Regions from separate parts of the Homo sapiens genome. Here regions 2, 3, 4 and 5 are each linked to region 1. The links are contacts of gene promoters, found by promoter capture Hi-C in blood cells and fetal thymus (Javierre and others, 2016). All regions are on one chromosome and are shown on one strand. The core of a region is centred on a gene start or on the middle of the fragment in contact, and the rest is flanking DNA. Distances in the headings are between cores, read along the strand shown. Region 1 holds the start of FBXO7 (F-box protein 7). Region 2 overlaps SYN3 (synapsin III). Region 3 overlaps SYN3 (synapsin III). Region 4 overlaps YWHAH-AS1 (YWHAH antisense RNA 1). Region 5 has its middle 10 kb from the start of LINC02558.

The links. The method cuts DNA at HindIII sites, captures the fragments that hold promoters and counts their contacts. A CHiCAGO score of 5 or more calls a contact.
Region 2: a contact is called between a fragment that was not itself captured here and the fragment with the promoter of FBXO7 in region 1, in 1 of 17 cell types (megakaryocytes). The highest score is 5.3, in megakaryocytes.
Region 3: a fragment that was not itself captured here is called in contact with the fragment with the promoter of FBXO7 in region 1 in 1 of 17 cell types (megakaryocytes); the score reaches 7.4 in megakaryocytes.
Region 4: a fragment that was not itself captured here is called in contact with the fragment with the promoter of FBXO7 in region 1 in 1 of 17 cell types (naive CD8 T cells); the score reaches 6.3 in naive CD8 T cells.
Region 5: a contact is called between a fragment that was not itself captured here and the fragment with the promoter of FBXO7 in region 1, in 12 of 17 cell types (naive CD4 T cells, naive CD8 T cells, total CD8 T cells and 9 more). The highest score is 10.9, in naive CD4 T cells.

What each region holds. Positions count from the first base shown.
Region 1 is chr22:32,473,202-32,476,984 of GRCh38, reverse strand. FBXO7 (F-box protein 7) reads right to left here and starts at 2,174. Exons shown (of 9, transcript NM_012179.4): 1 at 1,861-2,174. The coding sequence starts at 1,982. RefSeq lists enhancers at 1,658-1,827, 1,413-1,913, 2,082-2,251, 1,914-2,414, 3,140-3,199 and silencers at 1,584-1,893, 1,904-2,093. The HindIII fragment of the contact is 4,456 bases long and covers 463-3,783 here.
Region 2 is chr22:33,035,152-33,038,934 of GRCh38, reverse strand. The region is part of intron 1 of SYN3 (synapsin III); the gene reads left to right. Among named protein-coding and RNA genes, the nearest start is that of SYN3, 21 kb to the left of the region's middle. The HindIII fragment of the contact is 1,670 bases long and covers 1,334-3,003 here.
Region 3 is chr22:33,017,985-33,021,767 of GRCh38, reverse strand. All of the region lies in intron 1 of SYN3 (synapsin III), which reads left to right. Among named protein-coding and RNA genes, the nearest start is that of SYN3, 39 kb to the left of the region's middle. The HindIII fragment of the contact is 2,293 bases long and covers 979-3,271 here.
Region 4 is chr22:31,934,515-31,938,297 of GRCh38, reverse strand. It overlaps YWHAH-AS1 (YWHAH antisense RNA 1), which reads left to right. Exons shown (of 3, transcript NR_171018.1): 2 at 183-382. Among named protein-coding and RNA genes, the nearest start is that of YWHAH, 8.1 kb to the left of the region's middle. The HindIII fragment of the contact is 4,105 bases long and covers 26-3,783 here.
Region 5 is chr22:31,958,657-31,962,439 of GRCh38, reverse strand. No RefSeq gene overlaps it. Among named protein-coding and RNA genes, the nearest start is that of LINC02558, 10 kb to the left of the region's middle. The HindIII fragment of the contact is 3,046 bases long and covers 555-3,600 here.

The DNA of each region.
Region 1 (3,783 bases), core at 925-3,424:
CTAGTACAAGGTACGTTCAAGTATCTGTTTGCAGAAAAGGTCATGGTCCGCTTAATAAATATACCAGCTCTTCCTCCCACTTTAGAAAAAGGGAAAAGCTATTTCTAAAGTAATATATAGTTTTCCAGGATTCTACCTCTGAAATTGGGGCGTTAAGAGGAGTATTTAATTCCAGGAAATGAAATTCTAGAAACTCCAGCCTTCTTAGAAGTATTTCATGGCAGCTCTGCCTATGGAGTAGCCATTCTTTTATTCCTTTACTTTCTTAATAAACTTGCTTTCACTTTTCTCTTAAAAAACAAAAACAAAACAAATAAAAGCATTTCATGACAATCCTAGCTCCACTTGCTCAGTAAAGATATTTTTAAAATAATATCACATGGACATATTTTAAAACTGCACCTTTATTAGAAAATGAGTATACTTTCAGAAAAAATGAGTTTACTTTCACAAGCTGAAGCTTAAATTCTGTCCAGGTAACCAGCCTCAACTGTAAAAAGAAATCTGAAAGAGAAACCAACGTGCCCTTTTGGGCAGTCATATTGAGTTTCACGTCCTTTCAAGACTGCCTAATTTAAAAATAATAAAATATATATATACTTGGTAATACCTTTAAAAAATAAGTTTGAAGATTTATTCAATCTTCTACTCGTAACCTACTGGTAACGATGCCAGTATGTAAAACACACAGGTTTAACAACAAGAAATAACAGTAGGCATGTCACTTACTATAATGTTTAAAAGGAGTTATGTCAGTATCTTATTTAGGGTTTTTTTTTTAATCAGGAAGAAAACAGGCTTACTTTCAATCTAATAATGTCTTAACCAGGAAAATGAAAGGGCGAGAAGTTCAGAATAACGGCCTCATTTTACCCAATTCCCTAAAAATAAGGTGAAAACGTAGGAAGGTTTGCTTTTGTTTTGAAGAATTCACCTAAAAATCCCCAGGGAACATCTTTTTCATTTTTCCTTAGCACACTCAAGTTTCAAATTCACTAGCTCAGTATTTGAAGAGGACCACTCTTACCTTGCCGCTTTACTCCCAAATTATTGTCCCCAAAAAGTATCTTTTAGGGAAACAAAGCAGCTTCACCTGCAGTCCCACAAACCAATAACAGAATATGATCCTTTCTCAACTTTACTGCCCCCAAACTGCAAGCTCTCAAGATCAACGTTTGCCTCAGTTTTAGCAAAAAAGCAACATTTCACCCAAGAAAATGAAATGGTCTGAAACACGCCTACACGCTGTCCTTTCTAAAACTTTTCGGCGGCGAAGTCCAAGCGCTCACCGCGGTGCTCGGCGCATGAACACAACAGAATCTAAAATTGTTGCCGCTTCACAGCAGCGATACAAGCTACCGGTGGCCTCGGATTGAGGGCAGATTTTTAACTTCTAGCAATTTCCAAACTTTTTCATTGAAATACTCCAACAGCTGAAGAAATTAACTCGGACCCCTCACAGTCCAGAAAGGTTTAACCCAAGCCAAGCTCATCATTTCCAACTTGAAATCTAACCAGTTGTGGAAATTGTGCGTTCCCTCCTCTCCCTGGTTCCGTTTACTGCAAAACCAGAAGCCATGACTCACCGAGGAGGGGACCAGAGCCCCCGGGAGGCCGGGCCATGTTCTCCAGGAGCCGGACCCCAGCCGACCACCCGCGCTTCCCGTCGCCTGCACCCTCCGGCTCCGCGACGCCCGGAAGAGCCCGGGCCTCCCGTGAAGGCCCCCCCGGCGTCCCCGCACTTGGCCTATCGCCCGGCCACGCCCGCGCCTGCAGCCCACAGATGACGCCAACCCGCCCTGCACCCACCCCAAGCACTCCCCACTCCCCGCGGGCCGCCCAGCCCCGGCCCCAGCGTACCTGTACCCCCAGGTGCACAGCAGGGACTGCCTCAGGTGCGAGCGCAAATGCCCCAGCGTCGGCTCCGTCTCGGGCACCTCCAGCGGCCAGGTCCGCTTCAGAAGCCGCACCCGCAGCCTCATGACGGCGGCAGGCGGCCCGAGGGGCCTGGACCCGGAAGCGGCGACGGGGACGGCGGCGGGGCCGAGCAGCTCCCGCCCCAAACGGCGACGACCCCGGACTGGCGACTACCGGAGCTGAGGGGTAGCTGAGGCGAAACGGGGAAAGAGCCCCGCCACAGTGGCCGCCCTGCCACTCGGTCTCTGGAATAGAGCGCCCGCCCCTCTCCTGAGGGCGCCTCCTGGAGCCGACCCCGAGAGCTGGAGGCGGGCAGGCGGCCTAAAGGAACCGGGCCTCTCGGGGTCGGCCGATCGATGACTCCGCGCGCAACGGCGCTGCCTGAGAGCGCGGGCACAGTGCGCAGGCGCCGAGATGCGGCCGCTCGCTGGCATCCCAGATTTTCCGCGGCGGTGGCTGGGACTCCCAGTACTTACTCCCTGTGTGCGTGGAACAACGGTAGCGCTGATAGGGATGCTGCAGACAGACAATACAGTCGCCACTCCCCAGGACCAAGTGTCACCCCCTTTCTTCCGTGGCCCTCAGTTCCAGCGGCATCTGCTCTGAGAAGCCTTAGGTTAATCCTTAGGTTGGCCGGGCGCGGTGGCTCACGCCTGTAATCCCAGCACTTTGGGAGGCCGAGGCGGGTGGATCGTTTGAGCCCAGGAGTTCGAGACCAGCCTGGGCAACATGGTGAAACCCCCCCCCCCATCTCTACAAAAAATACAAAAAATTAGGTGTGGTGGCGCCTGCCTGTAGTCCCAGCTAGTTGGGTGGCTGAGGCGGGAGGGTCGATTGAGCCCGGAGGTCGAGGCCTCAATGAGCTGTGATCGCACCACTGCACCTCAGCCTGGTTCCACAGAACGAGACCCTGTCTCAAAAAAAAAGTAGAACTATTTGTAGCCAGTAATCTATGTCCGACAGTTTATTAGAACTCTGTGGCTGCATAACAATCACCCCAAAGTTTAACGCAATAAACATTTGTTGTCCCACAGGTTTTAGAGGTAAAGGGATTTGGGGATGCGTGGCTGGGTGGTTCTGTCTCCAGGTCTCCCATGAGATTACAAACTGTAGGCCAGGGCAGCAGTTATTGACTAGGGCTGGAGGATCGGCCTCCAGGATGGCACAGTCATGACTGTTGGCCAGAGACCTGTTTTCACCACGTGAACCTCCCCATAGGGCTGTTTGAGTGTCCCCATGACATGGCAGCTGGCTTCCTTCAGAGCAGGTGATCCCAGAGAGACCAAGGTATAAGCCACAATGTCTTTTATGACCTAGCTCCAGAGGTCACATACGGCTTTTGTCATATTTACAAACCAACCCTATGTGTGAGAGGATCCAGCCAAAGGTATGAATGCCAACAGACAGGGATCGCTGCGGGCCATCCTGGAGGCTGGCTACCATAGAGGGTCTAACTAATGATAACTTAGATGAGAGAGAGTATCAAGTTTCGTCCTTGTGTGATAACCATAGTCCAAATCCTTAGAGTCAAATAAAGTTTCTCCCAATAGGTGGCAGCACTTGTCCACATCCTGCCCTTGATTCTGCAAATAAATATGTATTGATTGCCTACTTTGTGACAGATACCCCACATGCTGGAGACTCAAGAGACCAAAAAGACATGTTTCTGCCCATGCAAAGTTTACAGTTGAGTGAATCAGCTCTTTCAGTAGAGTGTAAAAAGTCTCTGCTTTATGATAGACATAAATACAGACCTGAGGAATGGGATTGTTAGAAATGTTTGTTTTTTGATGTTGTAAAGAAATAGCACTTGAATATAAATTTAATTTTTTTAGCAAGGCCATTTTTATTTTTTGTAGAAAGGGT
Region 2 (3,783 bases), core at 919-3,418, 560 kb before region 1:
AGGGACTTGGAGCAGAGATGCAGAAGCCCCAGAACAGCCCCGGGGCTTCCGCCTGCAGCTCAGGGATCCTTTGGCCAGGGTTTTGTAGTGCACTACCTCAGCTAATCATGGCACAGTTTAGGGGTGCGAGAGCTGCTCAGTTCTAATCTGACTCTTAAGATTTCCAACTTGACTCTTCTGTAAAATAGGATGACTGGCTGCCTTGGGTTTGGTGGCAGGGGCTCCAGGAACGTTGGATTTCTCCTTCCACTCCTGTCTGCCTCTTTAATAAAGTAGGGTGCAGCAGCACACTGGGGATGGGGCAGTCTTGGGTCCTGATGTCATGCCCAGTTCTGTGGCCCTAGAGGCTTTCTTGAAGGCCCCCAGAGCTTGCTTTTCTGCCATTCTGAGAAGGATTGTGTCCCTAAGCAGGTCTGGACCCTGGGGGAAAGGATGTGAGAATTGCTCAATCGGAGCTCACAGTGGAGGTTAAGAGAGCGTGGGTGGGCTGGAAGGCAAGTCGGCTTTTCTTCAGCAGCTCAACCAGACAGTGCAGCAGGAATGACTGTTTTCTGCAGAGCTGGAGGAGGCAGCGCCGCAGCAGTAATCCCCATCCTGGCTGTGAAAAATCCCTTCCTTGCCTGCAAGTGACAGCAGCTAGGGATCTTTTGGTGGAATCTGATGCCAGGATGTGAAGGCTCTGCTTCCCTCTGCCTATGGCGTGCCATCAACCTTAGGGATCCTGGTGCCTGGCCTAAGGGGGCATTACTGCTGTTTGGCAAAATCCCAGCCACTTCCCAGGGCTCAGGAAGCAGCTTTTGGTGGGGAGCCTGGGAGGCAGCAGCCCCTGATGAGAAAGAGAGCCAGCAGGGCACCGGATTGCCTGGGTATTCTTTTAATCTAGTTCTTTTTTCTGGTTTCATTTTCTCGATCTTTTGTTTTTATTCCTTTTTTTTTTTAACTTCATGCATTCTTATTTTATTCATTCACTGCATTTTTCTTCTTTACTTTCTTCCATCCTAATTTTTACCTTTCTTTTTCTCTTTCTTCTCCTTTTCTTTCCTGCCTTTCATCTACTTATTTGTTAATTCAGTATTAATCCATCTAGCATTTTCTCAGCCTCTTGCTAGAGCTGGAGGTGCAGGTAACACCTTCCTTTCCCTCTGGAGGAGCTCAGACACTGTGGGAATGTGGGGAGAAGACACAGGCAAGCAGGCAGGAGTGGTAGTTAAAAGCCTGTTAGTTCTAGACTCTGCAGTCCCACCAGTGGCTTCTTCACTGGGTTACCTTAGGCAAATTACCGAACCTTTCTGAGTCTCGGATGCTTCAGCGTAAAATCAGGATAACAGAAGCTTCTTCATTGGATTGCTGGAAACACTAGAGAGAGTGCAGGGAAACTGCCTAGCCAAGTGCCTGGCATGTACAAGAATGCAACAGACTATGATTAATATAGTTTGACAAACACTATTAGAAATCAGGATAAAGGAAAGCAGAGAAATAAAATACTTTTCTGGGTCTGGTTCTTGCTCTTGAAAGTGAGAATCAAGATAGGCACCTGAGTTCTTCAGGACTGAGCCCCTCAATTTCAAATGAGGAAAGAAGCCCAGTGGTAGGTTGTATGGGGAGAAAGGAGCTCAGACTTTGGAGCCAGAACATCTGGGCCCAAAAAATCTGGGCAGCAAGCGGGCAAGTGACGCCACCTTTCTGAGCCTTAGTTTTCTCCATATGTGAAGCAGAGATAATAACAAAGGATTGCCATACATGGGAGGAAAAAACCCACTTTTTCTGCTATTTGTCTTAGGTGCATTGGCTGCGGCCCTGTAAATAAACTAATGAAAGATTAACAAGAGAAAAACAAACAGAAGTTTATGAGGTGCATATACTTAATTTATTAAGTGCAGCTGTGCATACACTTGGAAGCGCTGGGAGTTCAGTAACTCAAAGGGGTGATTGGAACTTGGGCTTGGCCGGGCATGATGGCTCACGCCTATAATCCCAGCACTTTGGGAGGCCGAGGTGGGCGGATCACCTGAGGTCAGGAGTTCAAGACCAGCCTGACCGACATGGAGAAACCCCGTCTCTACTAAAAATACAAAATTAGCCTGGTGTGGTGGTGCATACTTGTAATCCCAGCTACTCAGGAGGCTGAGGCAGGAGAATCAATTGAACCTGGGAGGCGGAGGTTGTGGTGGGCCGAGATCGCGGCATTGCCCTCCAGCCTGGGCAACAAGAGCGCAACTCTGTCTCAAAAAAAAAAAAAAAAAAAAAAAAAAAAAAGAACTTGGGCTTTACAGCATTTAAAAAAATTTTTTTAGACAAGGGACAAGACAAAGAAAAGGATTTTGAATTTCCAGGGCAGCAAATTGTGGAAAGTAAATATATGGGGAAGCTGATAGAAGCCAGTAAAGTTCGTTATATAGATGCCTCTGGTGCCTTGGGCTGATGAGGGTTTAAAGTTATCAGTGATTAATTTCTGTCCTTTCTGCTGGAGGTTTAGGGGATCAGCTTTGCAAATTTCTGTCCTGCTTTTAGGCAAACACAGGGAGGGCAGAGAGCTTTTCTTATATCTGCTTCTTCTCAACTGCCTTCAGCTCAAAATAATCCTTATGCCAAAGTGGTATATTTTGGGATAGCGTATTCTGGTCCCCTATGACAACTGAAATGAGTGACTGAAGCATAAGTCTCAATCATCGAGGTTTATGAAGGCAGCTTCAGGGCACGTCTGGGAAAAACATAAGCCACAGACACATCTGAGGCTGCTTTTCCGAGGAGGTTTTCAGGAAATTTAGTCTTTATACATTTTCTTAAAGAGGAGGAAGGCATGTAGGAAGAGGGGCAGGTAGGCGGTAAGGCAAATGCTTATACTCTTGTGAGACTTTCCTTAGTGCCCGGTAAATCTCCATTTTACATAAGATAAGGTGAATGATGAAGAGAAAAAAGGAGTAAAGGAAGAGTCAGTTATGGATGTCTCTGGGTGGTTGGAGAATGAGTCTTGACTTTGTCCTGGACCTGGGAAGATAAGCTTATAGTCAACGTTATTAGCTTATTATAATGTAGAATCAGAGCTAGACTTAGGCTGGTGCTGTGGCTCATGCCTGTAATCCCAACACTTTGGTAGACAGAAGGCAGGAGGATCACTTGAGGCCAGGAGTTTGAGACCAGCTTAGGCAACATATCAAGACCCCTGTCTCCACAATAAAAAATGAAAAATTATCTGGGCCTTGTGGTACGTGCCTATAGTTCTAGCTACTCAGGATGCTGATGTGGGAGGATCACTTGACTCCAGGAGTATGAGTCTGCAGTCAGCTGTGATCGTGCTACTGCACTCCAGCCTGGGTGACAGGGCAAGACCGTGTCTCAAATAAAAATAAAGACCTTGATTTAGATCGTAGACCTAAAGTTACATTTGGCACGTCCTTGTTTATGGGAGGGCAGCCAAGGTCACTTTTGAATGATCTTTGGGGGCAGTCCTTTGCAGATGCCTGAGGCCTTCCACCTTTCCACGGGGACCTGGCTGATGCATAATGTAACAGCTATTCATTTGGAAGAGGGTGTTGCAATGACTCAGCTTCTGGGCTTAACTGTCCCTTTTGCATAAGAAGTTTGGTGGCGGGGGGGGGGGGGGTCCCGAGATTTTTAATTTTTCTTTCCACCTACAACTGTTAGGATTAATTGGTTTAATATATGAACAAAGTTTAAAATAGTACCTAGCACTTAGGAAATGTTAAATGAATAGCTGCTATTATTATTATTATTACTATCATCGTCATCATTATCATTGTTACTGTCGCATAGAAAGCCAGT
Region 3 (3,783 bases), core at 876-3,375, 540 kb before region 1:
TTTATAGAAGATGGTGCATGCTATGGAAAAAAAGAACAAGTAGGATCCAAAGTACCAGACAGTGGCAGTCAGAGGGGAGGCTTCACTGAGAATGTGACATTTCAGCAGGACCTGAGGGAGAGGTGGGTGGGCCACGCATGTGTCTGTAGACAGAGAGTTCCAGATGAAGGAACAGACAGTGCAAAGGCAACTAATGCACAGGAAGTTCAATCACTGGAATTCATCTTCTTTCTTTGTTATCTAAGAAATGTGCCAGGCCTTGAATATTTCTTATCTAATGTACCATTGTAGGAGAGCCAGGTGTTAGGCTGTGAAACACTACGTCATCAAGATTAAAAAGCAATTGTATGGGGGGTGATGGAACTCTTCCATATCTTGGTAGTGGTGGTTCCCTGAATGTGCTAAAACTCATAGAACTATACACCCCCAAAGTCTATTTTATTCTATGTTAACTTAAAAAATAAACATTTGGAAAAGCACTTTAGTGCACTTGATTTTGGTCTGCTCAAAGACCTGTGAAGTAGGAAGGGCAGGGTATTGGTATCCCCACTTTGCAGATGAAGAACCCGTGACTTAGATGTCACTGAGCTGCAAGAGGCAGAGGTGGGGCTCAAAGTCAGATCCATGCCAAAGCTCATTCTCATGTAAATACTGCACCTGCCGTGTTGCCTTCCAAACTAACCACACTGTCAGACTTTCTGGCAATGGGAAACACATTGTCTAAAAAAAAATCGGAATAATAATAGCAGCTGACACAGATTGTTTACCATGTGCCAAGCACTGTTTTAGATACTTGGCATATGTTAAGTTGCAGGAACTCTATGAGGTAGGTACTATTATACCCATTTTGCAGATAAGAAAACTGAGGCACAGAGAGGCTAAGTAATTTTCTCGAGGCTTTGTAGGTGGTAGATAGCAAAATTGGGATTGGAACCCAAGCAACCTGGTCCCAGGATCCATGAACTTAACCTTCAAGCTTACTGCCTCTGTCTACCTGTGTCCAGCACCAGAGTGCTGAGGCCATTGTAGTCCTTAGCCTGGGTTTGGGAGGGGGCTTGCACTTGAAGAGTCCCTTTTATATAGGATTTGTTTTCAAAGTGGTATAGGTTGGCCTTTTGTATGACCCAATCTTGCAAAAGAAATTTCTCCCCTTTTGCTTGTCATGGTGCCCAAAGTATCATCAATAGAGTCACCTCAGTGAATCTTAAAGACTGAGCAAAAAGATTGCTTTCAGGCCTTATACCTTATACCATTGGAAGAATCATTTTAATAGCGTGATTGTATTGAGGTGCTGGTACTCTGGGCTGGGCATCTGGCCTGTCCTCCTCTTCAGACACCCTCTCTTATTCTTAAATACCCCATCTCCTATGTCCTGAGGCTTCTCTGAATTAGAGGCTCCAATGACAAGGTCCTGCCAAGAGATCTGATCTTAGGGGTGAGGTATTGAGAAGAAGAAGAAGTGAGGAAGATGGGTTTTGAAAGAGGTACAGGATCCAGAAATAAACCTCACCACTTTCTCCATTTTCCTAGGATTGGGTCTATGTGAACAAACACGTTTCCATGGTTAACTATTCAACTGAATACTTCTCCTCTGGAGGAATTAAATCTGAAGGTGTTTGGTTAAATGCTTTGGGGCCTCTATGTGACTGTGGGGCCTCTGTGTTCAGAGTCTCTAAGCATTAATGACTCTCAGGGATGGTTGAAGTCAGGAATAACAATTCTGCATCCTGATGATATTGTAAAGATACCACTACTAAAAACGATGTTTCATTACTATTATTTGTATAATCATTCATTATTTCAAAAGCACGTCTGTGCATTCTTTCATTTGATCTTCCCAGTAGCTTCATGTGGATTGCTAAGAATAAGCAATGGGGCTGGGCGTGGTGGCTCATGCCTACAATCCAAGCACTTGAACTCAGGAGTTGAAGACCAGCCTGAGAAACATGGTGAAACCCCTCCTCTACAAAAAATACAAACATTAGCTGGGGGTGGTGGCACGTGCCTGTAGTCCCAGCTACTTGTGGGGCTGAGGCGGGAGGATGCAGTGAGCCAAGATCGCGCCACTGCACTCCAGCCTAGACCCAGTCTCAAAAACAAAAGCAAAACCAAAAACAAACAACAACAAGAAAATCAACTGTAATAAATAAATAACAGCAGGAGCTAGTACATGTAGTGCCTGACATGTCAGGCCTTGCACTGTGTCACATCAGTTATCTCATTCAGTGTTCATATCAATTTGTAAAGTAGCCGTTATTTTTTATTCCTGTTTTACAGATGAGGAAACTGAGGCACGGAGGTTGAATAAGCCACCCCAACTCTCATAGATATTACATGAGTAAGTGGCAGAGCTGGGATTGGAACCAGAGTCTGTCTGCCTTTGAAACCTGTGCTCCCAGTTACAGGTTTCATGGCCTCTCTAGGTATCCAGGCAGTGAAGGAAAAGGGGAATAAGATGCAGTATTCCGGGCAGAGGGAAAAGTATATACAAAGGATATGGACTTTTGGAAGAGCATGACTCATTAGAAGAGTTTCATCCTGCATGGCCAAAGTAGCAAGGAAAACCTTGAAGAAGATGGCAATGATTAAGGTATTTCTGGGTTACAGTGTGTCCTTTATCCTAGGGATATGTGGAAAGTCACGAGGGGGCTTCCTCTGGTTAGGGTTGTAGTTTGGAAAGCTCTCTCTGCTCTGTGGAAAGTTGACTGAATGACTGAGCTTAGAGGGAGGGAGCTGATTAGGAGCCTGTTGTAATAGGCAAGGGGAGAGAGCTTTAGCAGCACGTGAACCAAGTCTATGGTAGGAATGATGGAGAGGAGGGGATGATGCTGAAGATGTTAGTGGAGACAGAGTTGACAGGACTTGGAGATTGAGTGGCTGAAACTCACCAGGGTTAAGGAGGAGCAAAGTGTGAGACTTAGGTTCAGGTCTCAGTGAGTGGATGGGTCACAGGGTTCCGGAAGTGGGGAACCCAGGTGCATAAACTCATCTGAGGGTGAGCAAGGAAAGAAGTTTGGGGTGTCAATGAGTCACCCAAGCAGACATGTCCACTCTCCTGTCCAGGCTGATCAGTGGCTCATCTCTTCTCAAAGTAGCTGTTGCCGCTGTGGGGCAGCTCTCATTCCTCCTGCTTTGATGCAAAACGTATCCTTATGATTTTCACCTTACTTCTGGTTCTGGCTTCACCATCAAGTATGGAAAGTCTTTCATCCTTTATTTAACCTTTCCCAGTGAAGTTTTTCTTCATGCCACAGCCTCCAAGAAGTAAGCTTGCAAACTTGCCTTATAAAGTCTCTTTTTCTGTCTGGTCTGGTCACTCCTGCCCTCTAGTGGTTAGTGCTAGGGCAGCATGGGGCTGGGTACCCACGGGGCCTACTGGGTTCTATCCCAGCCCGTCTTCCCTGCCTTCCTGTCTTTTCCTAGGCTTTCACCAGAATCCCTCTCATCCGCACCTTGTCTTGCCATCAGATTAAGTTTGGCATTGGAGCGATATCCTGTGTCCTGTCCTAATGATTCAAGAGGAAAAGACCTTGAAAATTACATAATCCAGCTCCCCACTTTCACATCTGTGGACCAAAATGACTACAACGGCCTTCTAACCTGTCTGGCTCCTTTCATAGACACATCCTCTAGGTCTATTTCTACACAGTGGCCAGGTAGACCAGATATCCCTCTTGTCTCTAACCCTCCAATGGCTTACTTTCACAATTGGCTTCAAATCAAAATTGATTTCAACATGGCCCTTCATGATCTGACCCCTCTCTGCTTTTCTAAACATTCTCT
Region 4 (3,783 bases), core at 829-3,328, 540 kb after region 1:
ACCATCTGAAAAACTGCCTCAAGCTTTTGCATGGTTCCCACTGGGTGGGCTGGGTTGGGAGGGGCTGTCGTGCATGGTCCGGGAAAGCTGGAGAAGGCTGTTCCTTCACCCCGAGCCTTGGATTTCTTATCTGTGAAATGGGAGGCTGCAATGATGAATGGCAAAGTACCTTTTTTTTTCAGCTCTGAAAGTCTAGGATATTTTGCCACTGGAAGACCAGCAGACAATGTCATGACAACTCAAGAGGATACAACAGGGCTGCATCAAAAGACAAGTCTTTGGACCATGTCAAGACCTGGAGCGAAGAAGGTAATGAACTCCTACTTCATAGCAGGCTGTGGGCCAGCAGTTTGCTACTACGCTGTCTCTTGGTTAAGGCAAGGTCAGTATTATTGTTTTGATTTTACAGATGAGGAAACTGAGTCCCAGGGAGGTTAAGTGTCTTGCCCAGCCACAGCACAGAGAGCAGGGGCTCTGCTCCATCTTCACCATTCTTCCCACCACTGCCCCTGACCTTCAGAGAGTCTGAGAACATTCTTGTAGCTGTTGAGCTATGAGCATAACTGTCATCAGCTGCTGCTGAAACTGTACCCTGAGAAGCAAGGGAGAGGGTCACTGAATTTTCACCATGGTTCTCTGCCAGGCAACTATGCTAAAAAACATCTTTTCCTCCCCAGTATGTTAGTAGGAGGCAAGCAGATTGTTATAGCCTTCTGTCTTCTTGTAGATAATGGTGGCAGGCTGGCCCTGACTCAGGAGATAAAGGGATCTGAGAGGACCACAGCCACATGAGAAGGCCAACTCCTGTAGGAGGCTGGCTGGCTTCTGCAGAGACAGCACTGAGCTGCCCCTGGGGTCGTGGGTAGGATCCATTCCCTCGTTAAAGATATAACTTCCTCTACCTGGCCCTTCATAACCTGCCCGTGGCCCATCTTCTCAAGGTCATCACCCACTCCCTGGACACATTAGGCCCACCAGGTTCCCAGATTCTGCCCATGAGTTTCCAGAATGTCCTTTCCCATCCCTCCACCCCATTCTCTTCTTCTTACATTCCTTTAATACCCAGCCGAAATCTTACCTCCCCTAAAGAGCCTTCCCAGTTTCTCCAACAAGAAGTACTCTCGCCTTCCACCTACTCCCACTGTGACTCTGGTATCCACTGTCTGCCTAGAGTGACATTGGTAGGAATGTCTGTGGCTTGCTACTGGGCATCAAGCACTTTGTTATGTCATTTAATGCAGTATAAGATCTCATTTAATATGGGAGCTATTCTTCTTACACCCATTAAACAGATGGAAAAATTAAAGCTCAGGAAGGCATCCTCTTACCCAAAGTCATGCTGCTATTAGATGAAGAATTAGGATTTGAACCCAGGTCTTTCTGACTATAAGGTTCACACTCTTTGTTACTTATACCTTCTGCTTCCCACTTCCTTAGGAAGCAGCCATTTCCTTTGTAATAGACTGTAAGCACTGGAGAATGGGGCCTGTGTTTCATTCACCATCTGAGTCCCTGGGATGCCTGGCTGAGTGTCCTGGATCCAGGCGCTGCTCCATGAATGCTGAATTGAATTTGGTTACACCTTCTGCGTATTACAAAACTCCCATCACCAGAGCCCCCTTTGTGAATGGCCAAGATCTTTGGTCCTCTCCCCTTCCACCCCAGGAAGGGGAACACCTGAAATCAGCTGACAGCTAACATTAAGTGACAGCTGAGTGAAAGGCAAGAAGAGGGAGGGAGCAAGGGGGAAGGCAGGCAGGATTGCAGAAGCCGGGAGGGAGCTCAGAGGAGGAGGAGGGCTGTCCTGCTGAATCTGGCCAGCTTGCAGTTACTTAGAGTACAAGATCTGGAGTTACCAGACCCAGCCTCAAATCCTAGCTCTTCCATAGTAACTGGGGAAACCTGGGCAAGTTGTTGGACCTGAGTTTCAGTTTTCTTTTCCATAAAATGGGCATGTCAGGGTGAGTGGGCGGTGCAGTGGGGGGAGAATAAAAAGGGCATGTCCCTGTCCTCACTAGACCTCTTCATTCAGGAGGAATGAGGTTGTGTCTGAGGGAGGGAGGGAGTGCTGCCTACGGGGATGTTACCTACTTGAAATGGGGACAGTTGGAGGACCAGCACAACCTGAAATGGCTTCCCCATGAAGTCATTGAGCCCTGAAGGCCTGGGGCAGCAGGGAACTCACAGAATCACAGACCCATAATAAAGATCTTGGAGACAATTCAGTTTGGCTTTCTTACTCCAAGAGGCAGCACAGCATGGTGGACTGATGGGAAGCTCTGCCAGCAACGGGTTGTTCCCAAATCCTGGGCCCCACTTGCTAATTGTGTAGCCTTGTGCATGCCACTTTGTCGGTCTCAGACCGCTGGTTCCTTATCTTTTTTTTTTTTTTTTTTTGAGACAGTGTCTCGCATGTTGCCCAGGCTGGAGTACAGTGGCGTGATTTCAGCTCACTGCAAACTCCGCCTCCCAGATTCAAGCAATTCTCTTGCCCCAGCCTCCTGAGTAGCTGGGATTACAGGCACGTACCACCATGCCTGGCTAATTTTTGTGTTTTTTGTATGGACGTGGTCTCACCATGTTGGCTAGGCTGGTCTTGAACTCCTGACCTCAAGTGATCCACCTGCCTCAGCCTCCCAAAGTGCTGGGATTACAGGCGTGAGCCATCGCGCCTGTCCGGGTTCTTCATTTTTAATATGAAATTCAAAGTAGTTCCTTTGCCACAGCACTACTGGGAGGATCAGAGACCCAGACAATAACAGCTGGTCATTCGCTGGCCCTGTGGGAACTGAGGCTCAGAGAGGGAAAGTAATTCACCCATGGTCACACAGCAGGTTAGCGAAATCAAGCCTATGCCCAGGCCTCCCAAAGCCCAACCCTGGGCTAATCATCAGACAGCTGTGGCCTTATCACAAAGAAGGCTGAGACTACCCTTGAACATGCAGCCAAGGAACTCATACTGGGAATCACTGGTGGGATTCCGTATCTCACTGAGCTGAAATAATTGCTTGGGTTGCCTGTGGATGGAGTATGGCAAAAAGCCCAAGTCAGAGCCTAGGGTCACATGTCCAACCTGGGGTCTAATCCACAGTATAACCCTGGCCATGTCGGGTCACCTCTCTGACCTCTCTGAGCCTCAGTATATTCTCTGCTTACAAAATGGGAGCAAGAATTCCTGGCAGTGCAAAGGAATCATGTAAGACACAGACTATTTCTTTTCTTTTCCTTTCTCTCTCTCTCTCTCTTTCTTTTTCTTTCCTTCCTTCCATCCTTACTTCCCTTTCTTTTCTTTCCTTTCCTTCCTTTTTTTTTTTTTTTTTTTTTAGACAAGGTCTTCCTGGGTCACCCAGGCTGAGTGCAGTGGTGCAATCCTGGCTCACTGCAGCCTTGACCTCCTGGACTCAAGTGATCCTCCCACTTCAGCCTCCCAAGTAGTTGGGACTGACTACAGGTGTGCACCACTACGCCTGGCTAATTTTCTATTTTTTGTAGAGACAGGGTCTCAGTATGTTGCCTTGGCTGGTATTGAACTCCTAGATGCAAGTGATCCTCTCGCCTCAGCCTCCCAAAGTGCTGGGATTACAGGTGTGAGCCACCATGTGTGGCCCAGAGCTATTTTCACAGCAGCTACCCATGAGCTCCCACTGGGCACCTCACTATGCATCCAGCCTGTGCTGTCACTAGCAATGGCTTCATTTAGTCCTCACAACAGCCCTGCGTGGTGGGAACCTAATTTGTAGATAAATGTCTACGAACAGGTAGAACCAGGATCCGACCTCGAAA
Region 5 (3,783 bases), core at 828-3,327, 510 kb after region 1:
AGGTCAGGAGTTCGAGACCAGCCTGACCAACATGGAGAAACCTGTCTCTACTAAAAATACAAAATTAGCTGGGCGTGGTGGCGCATGCCTGTAATCCCAGCTACTTGGGAGGCTGAGGCAGGAGAGTCGCTCGAACCCAGGAGGCAGAGTTTGCACTGAGCCAAGATTGTGCCACTGCCCTCCAGCCTGGGCAACAGAGAGAGACTCCGTCTCAAAAAAAAAAAAAAAATGTAGGCTGGGCGCAATGGCTTATGCCTGTAATCCCAGCACTTTGGGAGGCTGAGGCAGGAGGATCACTTGAGGTGAGGAGTTGGAGAGCAGCCTGGCCAACATGGTGAAACCCTGTCTCTACTAAAAATACAAAAATTAGCCAGGTGTGGTGCCATGCACCTGTAGTCTCAGCTACTCAGGAGGCTGAGGCAGGAGAATCGCTTGAACCTGGGAGGTGGACATTGCAGTGAGCTGAGAGTGTGCCACTGCACTCTAGCCTGGGCAACAGAGTGAAACTCTTGTCTCAAAAATAATAATAAAAAAATAAAAATGTACATAAAGCTTCACTTAGCAGGGTGACTGACTAGCTCACAAAAGACAGCAAATGTTATTTCCCCTCCCCTTCCTAGTACAGAATGGCATGGGAGTAGAACTTTGGGAAATGAATTTGACAATAGATTCCTTCAGGTTTGTTTGTTTGCTTGAGACAGGCTGTCACCCAGGCTGGAGTGCAGTGGTGTAATCAGGGCTCACTGCAGCCTCAACCTCCCAGGACCAAGCAATCCTCCCACCTCAGCCTCTCAAATAGGTGGGACTACAGGCATGCAACAACACAGCTGGCTAAATTTTTGTACTTTTAGTACAGATGGGGTTTTACTGTGTTGCTCGGGCTGGTCTCAAACTCCCGGACTCAAGCAATCCTCCTCCCACCTCGGCCTCCTAAAGTACTGGGATTACAGGTGTAAACCACCTTGCCAGGCTTGTTATAACATTTCTAGGACTCCTTTTCTCTAGTTGGGGATCAAAATATCCATGGCGTAGTGGAAAGAACCTTAAAGTAAGACAGCCCATTTCAATCTCAACCTTGCCTCTTACTAGCTATGCACGTTACATCACCGAATACCTGGTTTCCTCATGTGTTAAAAATATTAACATTCCTCACTGCTAAGGCTGCTGTAAAGATTCAGAGACCATGCATTCAAAGTACCCAAGACACAGTAAGTATTTGAGATGGTAATTTTTATTAGCCAGTCTAATGATTGGGTTTTATAATGAAAGAAGACCTGTTAAGTCACACCCAGCTCTGAATCATAGTGTTTGTGCTTGCCTGATAGTCACATCTGCTAAGATGAGGACCCTCTCAGTCTCTGGATGGCAGATTCTAAGGGTGTATGGGAGGAAGGTATGGAGGGCCTGATGGCCCACGCACAGCCTATTTAATCTTACAGAGCCAAGAGGAATCCTAGCTCCCTGATCCCGAAGGATTTAAGGACGGCCAAGAATTTACCCAACAATAGCTTCATTATCAAGAATCCTACCCCTTCCCCCAACTCAAAGAAATGGACTTTTGAGCAGGGTTTGAGGAGCTACTGGAAATCTGAAGCAATAGCAACAATAATTTTTTCTGGGGGGGGGGGGGGGGCGGGGACGGAGTTTTTGCTCTTGTTGCCCAGGTTGGAGTGCAATAGCGCGATCTCGGCTCACCGCAACCTCTGCCTCGCAGGTTCAAGCGATTCTCCTGCCTCAGCCTGCTGAGTAGCTGGAATTACAGGCATGCGCCTCCATGCCCGGCTAATTTTGCATTTTTACTAGAGATGGGGTTTCTCCATGTTGGTCAGGCTGGTCTCGAACTCCTGACCTCAGGTGATCCGCCCACCTCGGCCTCCCAAACTGCTAGGATTACAGGCGTGAGCCACCGCGCCCAGCCAACATCAATAAATTTAAACATCCCTTTTCAAGTATAATTTCTTCCATTCTAAGTGAAAACATTAAAAACACTGAAAGTCTCCTAAGGGTGAAATGTGTTGTATCCATTTTCTTTCTAGTCTCAACCCAAAGAGCATGGCAGTTAAGAGAACCAGGGACAAGGATTCGGGATCTGAATGCTACTCCAGATGCACCAATTTTGCCATGACCTAGAAAGCTATTTCATTTCTCTGGACTTTAATTTCTCATGCTGTAACATTGAGATGACCCCTTCTTAACGATTTGAGAAAGTTATCTTGACAAGTTTTAAAACGTTTTAAGTAGAATTGGGGAAAAAATATGCAGCAGTGAAGACTTCCAGGCTTACATCACATGTAATTTACAGCACCCTCTTAGGTCCTTTCAAAGAGCCTCATCTATTATTTATGTGGCTAACCTCCTTTTCTTTCTTTTTTTTGAAACCGAGTCTCACTCTGTTGCCCAGGCTGGAGTGCAGTGGGACAATCTCGGCTCCCTGCAACCTCCGCCTCCTGGGTTCAAGTGATTCTCCTGCCTCAGCCTCCATCGTAGCTGGGATTACAGGCACCAGCCACCACACCCAGCTAATTTTTGTATTTTTAGTAGAGGCGGGGTTTCACCATATTGGTCAGACTGGTCTCGAACTCCTAACCTCAAGTGATCCACCCACCTCAGCCTCCCAAAGTACTGGGATTACAGGCATGAGCCACTGCACGCGACCTATGTGGCTAACATTAATCACGTATGTCCATACTTCCCCATACCTCATTCCCAAAGAAGGTGCCTTACACACCATGAACTTAGATTAAAACATAACCCAAATCCTACACTTAAAAAATGAGGGACCTGAACCTCAAAGGTGGCATGGCTTGCCAAGGTTCCCCAGGCCCCCCAGAGGGCCGTTAAAATTCTGAATAAATCTTGGGTGGAAGCTGTCCTCTAGCTTACCAGCTGTATAAATTCCAGAGATCCACAACCTTTGCACTTTAGCTTCCTCATCTGTAAAGTGGGACAAAACCTTTCAGAAGACAGCTGTAAAACGTAAATGTGAATGCTTTAGCAACTGCAAAGGACATTTCAAATGTAAAAGCGACCGGGCACAGTGGCTCATGCCTGTAATCCCAGCACTTTGAGAGGCTGAGGTGGGAGGATCACTTGAGGTCAGGAGTTCAAGACCAGCCTGGCCAACATGGTGAAACCCCATCTCCACAAAAATACCAAAATTAGCCGGGCACGACAGTGGGTGCCTGTAATCCCAGCTACTCAGGAGGCTGAGGCAGGAGAATCACTTGAACCTGGGAGGCAAAGGTTGCAGTGAGCTGAGATCGTGCCATTGCACTCCAGCCTGGGTGACAAGAGTGAGACTCCCATCTCAAACAAAAAAAGAAAATGTAAGAGCCCTTTGTGTGTGTGTGTGAGAGAGAGAGAGACAGAGAGAGAAAAGAGAGAGAGAGAGAGGTCTTGCTATCAGAGACAGAGAGAGAGAGAAAAAAAGGTCTTCCTATCTCCCAGGCTGGGGTACAGTGGAGCAATCACGGCTCACCGCAGCCTCGACCTCCCGGGCTCCATCCTCCCAAGCAGCTGGGACTACAGGCGCACGCCACCATGGCCCAGCAACATTTTGTCTACGTGCTTATCAAAAGCAAGTATTAGCCATATAAAGCTTGTTGACTTTCAAATACCTGACCTACTAACTGAAGTGAAACTCAATAACCACTTTATCTTAAAATTAGGTCAACTTGAAACAGGCTTCCTGAGCCGTATTCATCGGCCCCGGCATGGGGGGCGGGGCTCATACTCTACTTCAGAATAAGAAACAGGTTAAACTTACATGCTTACAAGTTATGT